2 separate regions of the Homo sapiens genome follow, and region 2 is linked to region 1. Evidence: promoter capture Hi-C in human tissues and cell types (Jung and others, 2019). All regions are on one chromosome and are shown on one strand. The core of a region is centred on a gene start or on the middle of the fragment in contact, and the rest is flanking DNA. Distances in the headings are between cores, read along the strand shown.

Region 1 (4,390 bases), core at 1,307-3,806:
GAAAAGAAAAAGGAAAAAAGAAAGAAACCTGGCCGGGTGCAGTGGCTCATGCCTGTAATTCCAGCACTCTGGGAGGCCGGGGTGGGCAAATCACTTCAGGTCAGGAGTTCGACACCAGTCTGGTCAACATGGTGAAACCCCGTTTCTACTAAAAATACAAAAATTAGCCAGGCATGGGAGTGTGCACCTGTAATCCTAGCTACTCAGGAGGATGAGTCATGAGAATTGCTTGAACTCAGGAGGTGGAGATTGCAGTGAGCTGAGATTGTGCCACTGCACTCTAGCCTGGGCAACATGGCGAGACCTCATCTCTACCAACATAAATAAATAAATAATACAAAAATTAGCAGGCATGGTGGTGCACACCTGTAATCCCAGCTACTTGAGAGGTTGAGGTGGGAGGATCCCTTGAGCCTGGGAAATCAGAGGCCGCAAAGAGCTGAAATCATGCCACTGGGTGACAGAGCGAGACTCTGTCTCAAAAACAAAAAAGAAAATACACACTGAAATACTTAGGGATAAACGGGCATGATATCTATAGCTTTCTCTTAAAAAAAGTATATGTATAAATTATGTATCATGTATATGTATATATACTTATAGGATACATTATATATATGTATGTATACAGAGAGAGGCAGAATGATAAAGTAAATGATATAAAATGTGAATAACTGGGGAAATTTGGATAAATTGCATATGGGAGTTACTTGTATCATTCTTATAACTCTTCTGTAAATTTAGAATCATAGTAAAATTAAAAAGTTATTCAAAAAGGAAAAAACATTGATGAACATCATATGCCGATTTATAAGAAGAGATGAGGTATAAGGAGTACAACTATATGCCTAGGGGCTTAATCAGCCCTTTGGATCTTGAATCATGATCGTATTGATTTTTAGATGAATCTGGGGAAGATTGATGGACTTAAATGAGTCTTATTATTTATGACCTGATATATTTGTTTACTTTTCTTACATTTTAAAAAAACATCAATTATTTTAAAAAGTCATCTTCTCTCTTTAAAAAACCTGCCTTCTAGGCAGGAGCACTTAAGACCTTGGGCAAATCGATTCATTCCCTTTTGCCCAGCTTTCTCATCATTTAATTTGGAATAACAAAAGTCTGCCCCTCCCACCCAGGGTTGCTGCTGATTCAGAGGAGACCTAAGAGAGGCGGAGCGCTGAGAAGTCCGAAACTGGCTCTGTGCCCTGTGGGGTGGTCGATGGGGTTCATCTCTAAGGAGGTTCTGTTGAATTGAAGGTGCTGACCTCACCCTCCTGTCCCGGGACAGGCACTGTGGGGACGTGCACTGACTGGTACCAGCGACAGGATGAGACCTGAAGTGGCATTCCCAGTGATTCAGCTTAGAAAGCTAAGTTCTCCACGCACTGAGGAATGGAGAACTGACACTTTCTTCAGATTAAATTGGTATTTGAGGCAAATACCAGGGCATTTGAGGTATTTGAGGTATTTGAGGATTGCCAGGGCACTGAACTGGATAACCTTAAATAATCAAGGGGTTTTTAACTGAATTGAAATTTAAAATTCAATCCCCTGGTGCATTTACAAGATGTGTTATCTTCTTAGCTGCTAGTGACATTGTGGGCTTAGAGAAACTCTAGTCTGAATGATTTAATGAAACCTTCCAGGACTTGAAGAGCTGAAAGGGGCTTTTGCAGTCATTCGCCCAGTCTCCCAATACATGCAGGAGCCTCTTCCAGCATTCTTGACAGGGAGGATCTGACCAGTCTCAGAAGAACCCCAACAAGAGGGAGCTCATAGCCCATGCTAAGATACCTTGTCTCATTTAGAACATCTCTTTTGCTCCTAGTGTTTAGAGTGACAGGGGCTCTGGCAGATGCGAAAACCCGGTCATTGGGCTGCAGAGTCTTGGTCAAAAATACACAAAGAGAGGACCTGGACTGTCTGCCAGTCGCCCTTCAGCTCTCAAGAAGAGGACACAGGGAGCATCAGCCGACAGCTAAGAGATGGAGGGAGGGAAGGAGAGACAGAGAAGATGGAAAGGGACAAAAGGAAGAGAAGAGACAGAAGGGTTTGGTGAGTGAGACAGAAAAGGTAAAGAGAGACGGAGTGGAAAGAAGAGCAGAGAAAGAGCCGAGGAGTGGGGAACTGGGAGCTCTCCCTGAGGACACTTGTGGAGGAAGGCGCCAGGTGGACTGGCCACTGGTCCTTCCCTTCAGGGTGCCTTACCCCATTCTTGTCGAAGGCTCGGAACATGCCCTCTACATACTGGGAGGCCTCCTCATCGTCTGTGACCTTGAAGAAGCGCTTAAACTCATGCATAAAGAGTGTGCCGCTGGGGCACTCCATCACAAACTTCTTGTACCACTCCTGGAGCTCCGCCACATCTATCTCGCCAGCTGCCTCCGCCTCCTCCCAGCTAAACTCCTGCCCCATGCTAGCCCTGAGGAGCATCAGGGAGCAAGGGTCTGTATCTCCTCCCTGGCTTCTGCTGATGGATCTCTCCAACTAGGGCCCTCTTCCTCCCTTTCCAGGAGGCCTGATCAGCCTCTCCATCATCTCCTGGGTGACTGAACATGATCAGTCGGTGCAGGGGGCAGGTGGCAAGGGAGGTGGGTCCAGGCCAGCTAAGCTGCCCTAAGACTATTAGAAGATTCCCCAGGTGGCCGGGTGCGGTGGCTCATGCCTGTAATCCCAGCACTTTGGGAGGCCGAGGTGGGTGGATCACAAGGTCAGGAGTTCGAGACCAGCCTGGCCAACATGGTGAAATCCTGTCTCTACTAAAAATACAAAAAATTAGCTGGGCATGGTGGTGGGTACCTGTAATCCCAGCTATTCAGGAGGCTGAGGCAGGAGAATCACTTGAACCTGGGAGATAGAGGTTGCAGTGAGCTGCGATCACACCACTGCACTCCAGCCTGGGGGACAGAGTGAGACTCTGTCTCAAAAAAAAAAAAAAAAAAAAAAAAAGAGATTCCCCAGGAAGTTCTGACCTCCAGCCTAAACTCCTCCAGCCTCACTCCTTCCCTTAGCCTTGTCAACAAAGCAACCAAGCTGGCCCTGGTAGACTCTGAAGAGGTAGAAGGGGAAGAAACTGAGAGGTAAGCAGAGAGATGCAGAGTGAAGAAAGAGTCGGGGTGCTAGGCTGGGATCCTCCCATCTCACTCACTCCCTATCTCTTTAGCTGGGCCTCACATTGCTTCAGGGAGGCCCATCTTGGAGACAGGAGACTCAAATCCAGAGAGGAAGTGAGATCAAGTCCTAGGCCATAAAACAGAATCTGCTGGTGATCTGGGACTCGCCCCTCAGACGGTCTAGTGAAAAGAGGCAGAATCTATGATGGGAAGGGCTCTAGGTGAGCAACTCTCTTCCCAGGCTAACTCGGTCCCTGAAGCTCCTTTCCAGATTACACCTTTCATCTTGGGAGCTTTTCACTTTCTGATTTAAACTACAAATGCCTCCCTCCAACCCTTCACACAAGACCTAGGGGTAGTGCCTTTTTCACATTTCCTCCAAAATACTAACATGTGAGAAGGATCTGGGAGCATGGCCTAAAATATCTTTGAAGGCTCTTACTTTTACATTATAGGTCATGTAAAATTTGCTTTTGAACAATTACATATTCATGCTTATTTTAATGTAACATAAAAATGACACCTCCAAGAAATCAAAAGACCAGGGACACACATTTTTCTTTTTCTTTGCTTTTTTTTTTTAAATTTCTATTTTTTGAGACAGGGTCTCGCTCTGTCGCCCAGGCTGGAGTGCAGTGGTGTGATCTCGGCTCACTGCAACTTCCGCCTCCGGGTTCAAGTGATTCTCATGCCTCAGCCTCCCGAGCAGCTGGGATTACAGGTGCACACCACAACACCCAGCTATTTTTTCTTCTTTTTTTTTTTTTTATTATACTTTAAGTTCTAGGGTACATGTGCACAACATACAGGTTTGTTACATAGGTATACATGTGCCATGTTGGTTTGATGCACCCAGCAGCCAGCTAATTTTTGTATTTTTAGTAGAGATGGGGTTTCATCATGTTGGCCAGGCTGGTTTCAAACTCCTGACCTCAAGTGATCCACCCGCCTTGGTCTCCCAAAGTGCTGGGATTATAGGCATGAGCCACCACGCCCAGTGACACTCATTTTTCTAGAAGACTTCAGAGGCAGCAGTTCCAGTGAATCTATCCTTAACCTACCCATCCCTCACTGGGTGTTCAGCCTGAATTGTTTTGCACATCTCCAGGCCTGACCTCCTCTCTCACTGTTCTCTGCCTCCAGACGTCACTGAGCTCTGAAAGCTCTTTTAACTTTCTTGCTATTCCTGAAGGAGAAATGTGATTTCTTCTGTCATCCTTTCAAGTGGTGGTGGGTTTTTCTCCCCCACACACACCTCAAGGTCTAGATAA
Region 2 (4,390 bases), core at 477-2,976, 260 kb after region 1:
GAGCGGGAGCTGGCTAGGACAAAACCTCAAAACGGGACTTGGGAAAACCGCACCACCCAGAAAACTCAGCCCCTCCACCTCCCTCCCAGCACACACACACACCCTCTTAATCTAAAACTCCTCCCCGGGGCAGATAAGGAACCTATTCGGAGAGTTAAGTTAATTGCCCCAGGTCAATGTGGAAATTCACAGCCTGTCTTTCCAGCTCCTAAACCAGAAGCTGCAGAGAAGGAAGGATTTGGGATTTGCGGCTACACAGCCAAGGACGCTTTTGTCATCTTCAAAGGACCCCCTACACCCTACACGCTTGGCCCGCTCTGTTCATTGCCAACAGAGTGATGGTAATGCCAGATGGTTAGCTCTGCAGGCTCTGACCTTAGGCAAATTACTTAACCGCTTGGTTCAGTTTCTTTGCCTGTAAAATGGGAATGATAGTATTCATATCATAGTGTTATTGTGAGGTTTAAATGAGTTATTTTATGTAAGGCCTTAGAGTTTAAAGCAAGTTACTAATATTTGTGAATAGGGTTGTGTATCCTCCCCCGCCCCGCCCCCCCCCCACCTTCCAAAGGACTCTAGAAAATCAGATCCTCAGAGTCTTAGCTGATTGAAGCATCAGAAAAATATCTATGGGGCCAGGCGGGGTGGCTCACACCTGTCATCCCAGCGCTTTGGGCGGATGAGGTAGGCGGATCGCTTGAGCTGAGGAGTTTGAGACCAGCCTGGACAATGTAGAGAGACCCTCTCCACGTTTATTATTAAAAAATAAAAAATTAGCCAGGCATAGTGGTGCATGCCTGTAGTCCCAGCTACTGAGGAGGCTAAGGCAGGAGGATGGCTTGAGCCCACGGGGTTGAGGCTGCAGTGAGCAGATTGCCCCACTGCACTCCAGCCTGGGTGACAGCGCAAGACTCTGTCTCAAAAAATAAAATTATATATATAGAGAGAGGGAGAGAGAGAGAGAGAAAGAGAGCACCAAAAGGACTGGGAAACACCGGCAGATGCACAGACAATGCATCCCTGATTTTACCAATAGACTTGACTCCCAACAATGCATACTCTTGAAGGCAATCCACAGGTTGAATAAACCAAGTCCATGAGCGCTGGGTCTGGAATCTTTCTACAATCAGGGTCAGAAGGAGGGTGACTGAAATTAAAATATTAGCTTGGATCTTTGAAATCAGAGTCAGGCTGAAAAAGTCCCAATCTTAGTTCAAAACCTGTCCTGCATGACTGAAGCCCTCCTAGGGCTGCACAAAGTATAATGGAATTATTATTATTATTATCATTAGATCCTAGTCTTACCATTCTCAGCACTTATCCCCATAGCAAAAGACCATTTTTTAATGTAATTTATTCTTTTGGAATAGGTTGAATGCATTCACATGGTTCCAAATTCAAATAAACAGCAAGAAGTCTCCCTCCCACCCTGTCTGCCACCCACTTGGTTTTCCTTCTCTGGAGGCAACCTGGGTTAGTGGTCAGAAGATGCATTTAACTGTTTTCCAGCTGAGGCCTTGTGAGAACTCCTCGGACACCAATTTAAATCTTTATGTCCAGAACTCCTTTCTCCAATCCAGGTAGAGCCACTCCCCTATCCTATCCCCACTCCCACCCTTCCCCCCTTCAGCCTCAATCCTAAGCAGGCTCTATTAACAATGATGAGCCACCATTTCCTCGAGCTACTAACAAATGCAAATGTTTAAATACTTTGTGGTTCTTTTTCCTCTTCTACATTAATTGCTAACATTTATCGAGGGCTTTCCGTGTGCCACGCACTGTGCTAAATACTAGGCATGCATATTCTTATTTAATCTGCCCCAAATCTTCATCATTATCCTTATTTACAGATGCAGACAGAAATGAAAGTTCAGAGAGATTATGTAATTTGCACCAATTTGCATCCAGGCCAACCTGAATCCAAACCCTATCTCTTTTTACTTTTTCTTTCCTTTTTTTTTTTTTTTTTAAACAGGGTCTCACTCTTGTCAGCCCAGATGGCATGCAGTGGCACAGTCTATGGAGGCAATCAGGGTTAGCTGTCAGCTCACTGTGGCCTCAACCTCCCAGGCGCAAGTGATCCTCCCACCTCAGCATCCCCAGTAGCTGGGACTACAGGTGTACGCCACTACCCCCAGCTAATTTTTGTATTTTTTTGTAGAGATGAGGTTCCACCATTCTTGCCCAGACTGGTTTCGAACTCCTGGACTCAAGCGATTTGCCTGCCTCGGCCTCAAAAAGTGCTGGGATTACATGCATGAGCCACCACACCCGGACCCTCTCTCTTAAATAGTGGCCCTTTTGCCTCTCTGCAACACAGGAAAAATTCTGTTAGCCTGCATCAGAAGGAGTGGCATGGAGGCTTTGGAGTTAAGAAGATTTAATTCAAATTATGTGTCCGGTGCCTGCCAGCAATGAGACCTTGGTAAGGTTTCTTAACCTCTCTGAGCTGGGACCATACCTTCTGCGTTGGTTTAATATAAAGGTTAAATGCATGTAAATAAATGACTTCTAAAATAAATAACATTCTAAAATGTTAGTAACAACTAAATACAATATTTAGATCTTGTGAGGATTTGATTTGAATAAATAAGATTTTTTTAAAAGACATTTTTGAGACAAAATGTAGACTATCTGATATTAAGAAATTAATCACTTTTTCAGATATGATAATGGCATTGCAGTTTTTTTTAAGTTCTTATCTATTACAGATACATAATGAGGCATTTTGAGTGAAAATATATCTAGGATTTGCTTTCCAATACTCCATCCCCTCCCCATCAAAACACTAAATAAATGAAACAAGATTAGTGAAATACGGAAAATTGTTGAAGTTATTCATTATTCCATTTCCCATATGGAACTTTCCATACTAGTTTCCCTACTGCTGTTGAATATTTGACATGTTTCAAATACATTTGAAATAAATTTATTGTCTGAGATGATCAGGTTGAAAAATAATAAAATGAAATAAATTTAAAAGTAAAATAAACATAACCCTTTTAAGCATTAAAATTAAAAATTATGAGGCTTGTTGAATTATTACTGTTATAAATAATTACATACATGTATTTTTGAAACAGTCTTGCTCTTTCACCCAGGCTGCAGTGCAGTGGCATAATCACAGTTCACTGCGGCCTCAACCTCCCAGGCTCAGGTGATCCTTGCACGTCTGCCTCCCAAGTAGCTGGGACTGCAGGTGTGCACCACCATGCCTGGCTAAATTTTTCTCTTTTGTAGAGACGGGTTTTGCGATTTTGCCCACACTGGTCTTAAAGTCCTGGGCTCACGGGATCCTCCCACCTCAGCCTCTCAAAGTGCTGGGATTATAGGCATGAGCCACTGCACCCAGCCTAACATTTTTTAAGTTAACAAAATACAATGCTAGTACATAATAGGCATCCAGAAATGGCATTTTTTGTCACCATGAGCCATTCAGGGTAGCATGTAAGTCAGACCTGAGCCCTGAAAAGAGCAAGGTAGACAGGTAATTGTTAAGGACGCATTTAATTCCACAGAAGACAGCATATATGAAGGTAAATGGCAGAAGGACTGGGTGACAGGAACAGGCAAATTAAAGTTAGGGGCTGGTTTTCCCTGAAAATGTGCATCACTGCAGAGACACCTCAAGAATTTATAGACTTGGAATCAGATGCACTGGGTGAAATTCTCAACTCTGCTCACGGTTCTGCCACCCAGTCCAGAACTGTGACTGACTTCCCTCGTTTTCAGTTTAGATGCTAGAACTCTCTGGCTCCTTCTAGTTGTCTAGACTGTCCACAATGCTGCTGGCTTTCCCAAGAGAAGGATCATTTCTGAGGCTACGCTGGTTATTTGCCTATCTCAGGAACAAATCAGAGCTGAATGGAAATGTATCCAGTCCATAATCAAACGAAACGTTTTAGGCCCAGTGAGCATTTGTATATTGTTCTTGGAGTAATTTTTCCATGCTCTGGATTTAAGCAGCTGGAATGATTTTTACATATGACCCCGTTTTGAAATGAAAGTTTGTCCTCTTTAAGAGAAAGTGTGCATTTTGGGGAAAAGATAAGACAATATATTTGGTAACTCTTCAAATAAGTGAACCCTTCTATAAAATACTTCCCTTTATATTAAAGGTGGAGCTTTGGGAGAGCTTCTTAAAAACTGGACAAACTGCAGGCATGGAAAAATAGACAAGAGCATGGAGGGGGAAATACCACCTCAGTTGCCTTTCTACCCACTGCTGCAGAATGAAGTCTCAGAGAGGCAACAGGACCAAATGAAGGGGATAGCACAAATCAAGTGTGTGCTTTAGGGATGAGTGATGGATATAATTCATGCAGTTGTTGAAGCAGTCCCAGTGATCCAGAGGCAGGCGAGTCGTTCACTTTCAGTGGCAAGTGAAAGC

Evidence for each region. Contacts are between HindIII fragments. The study calls those that stand out against the background at their distance.
Region 2: a contact is called between a fragment that was not itself captured here and the fragment with the promoter of GUCA1B in region 1, in 1 of the 25 tissues and cell types used here (mesenchymal stem cells).

Annotation. Positions count from the first base shown.
Region 1 is chr6:42,192,400-42,196,789 of GRCh38, forward strand. GUCA1B (guanylate cyclase activator 1B) reads right to left here and starts at 2,557. Exons shown (of 4, transcript NM_002098.6): 1 at 2,215-2,557. The coding sequence starts at 2,421. The HindIII fragment of the contact is 9,949 bases long and covers 1-4,390 here.
Region 2 is chr6:42,454,575-42,458,964 of GRCh38, forward strand. LOC124900214 (arf-GAP with GTPase, ANK repeat and PH domain-containing protein 2-like) reads left to right here. Exons shown (of 4, transcript XM_047419627.1): 2 at 206-341; 3 at 1,371-1,580; 4 at 2,162-2,610. It overlaps LOC107986596 (a long non-coding RNA gene), which reads left to right. Exons shown (of 5, transcript NR_171668.1): 3 at 206-341; 4 at 1,371-1,580; 5 at 2,162-2,610. Among named protein-coding and RNA genes, the nearest start is that of TRERF1, 4.8 kb to the left of the region's middle. The HindIII fragment of the contact is 4,823 bases long and covers 1-4,138 here.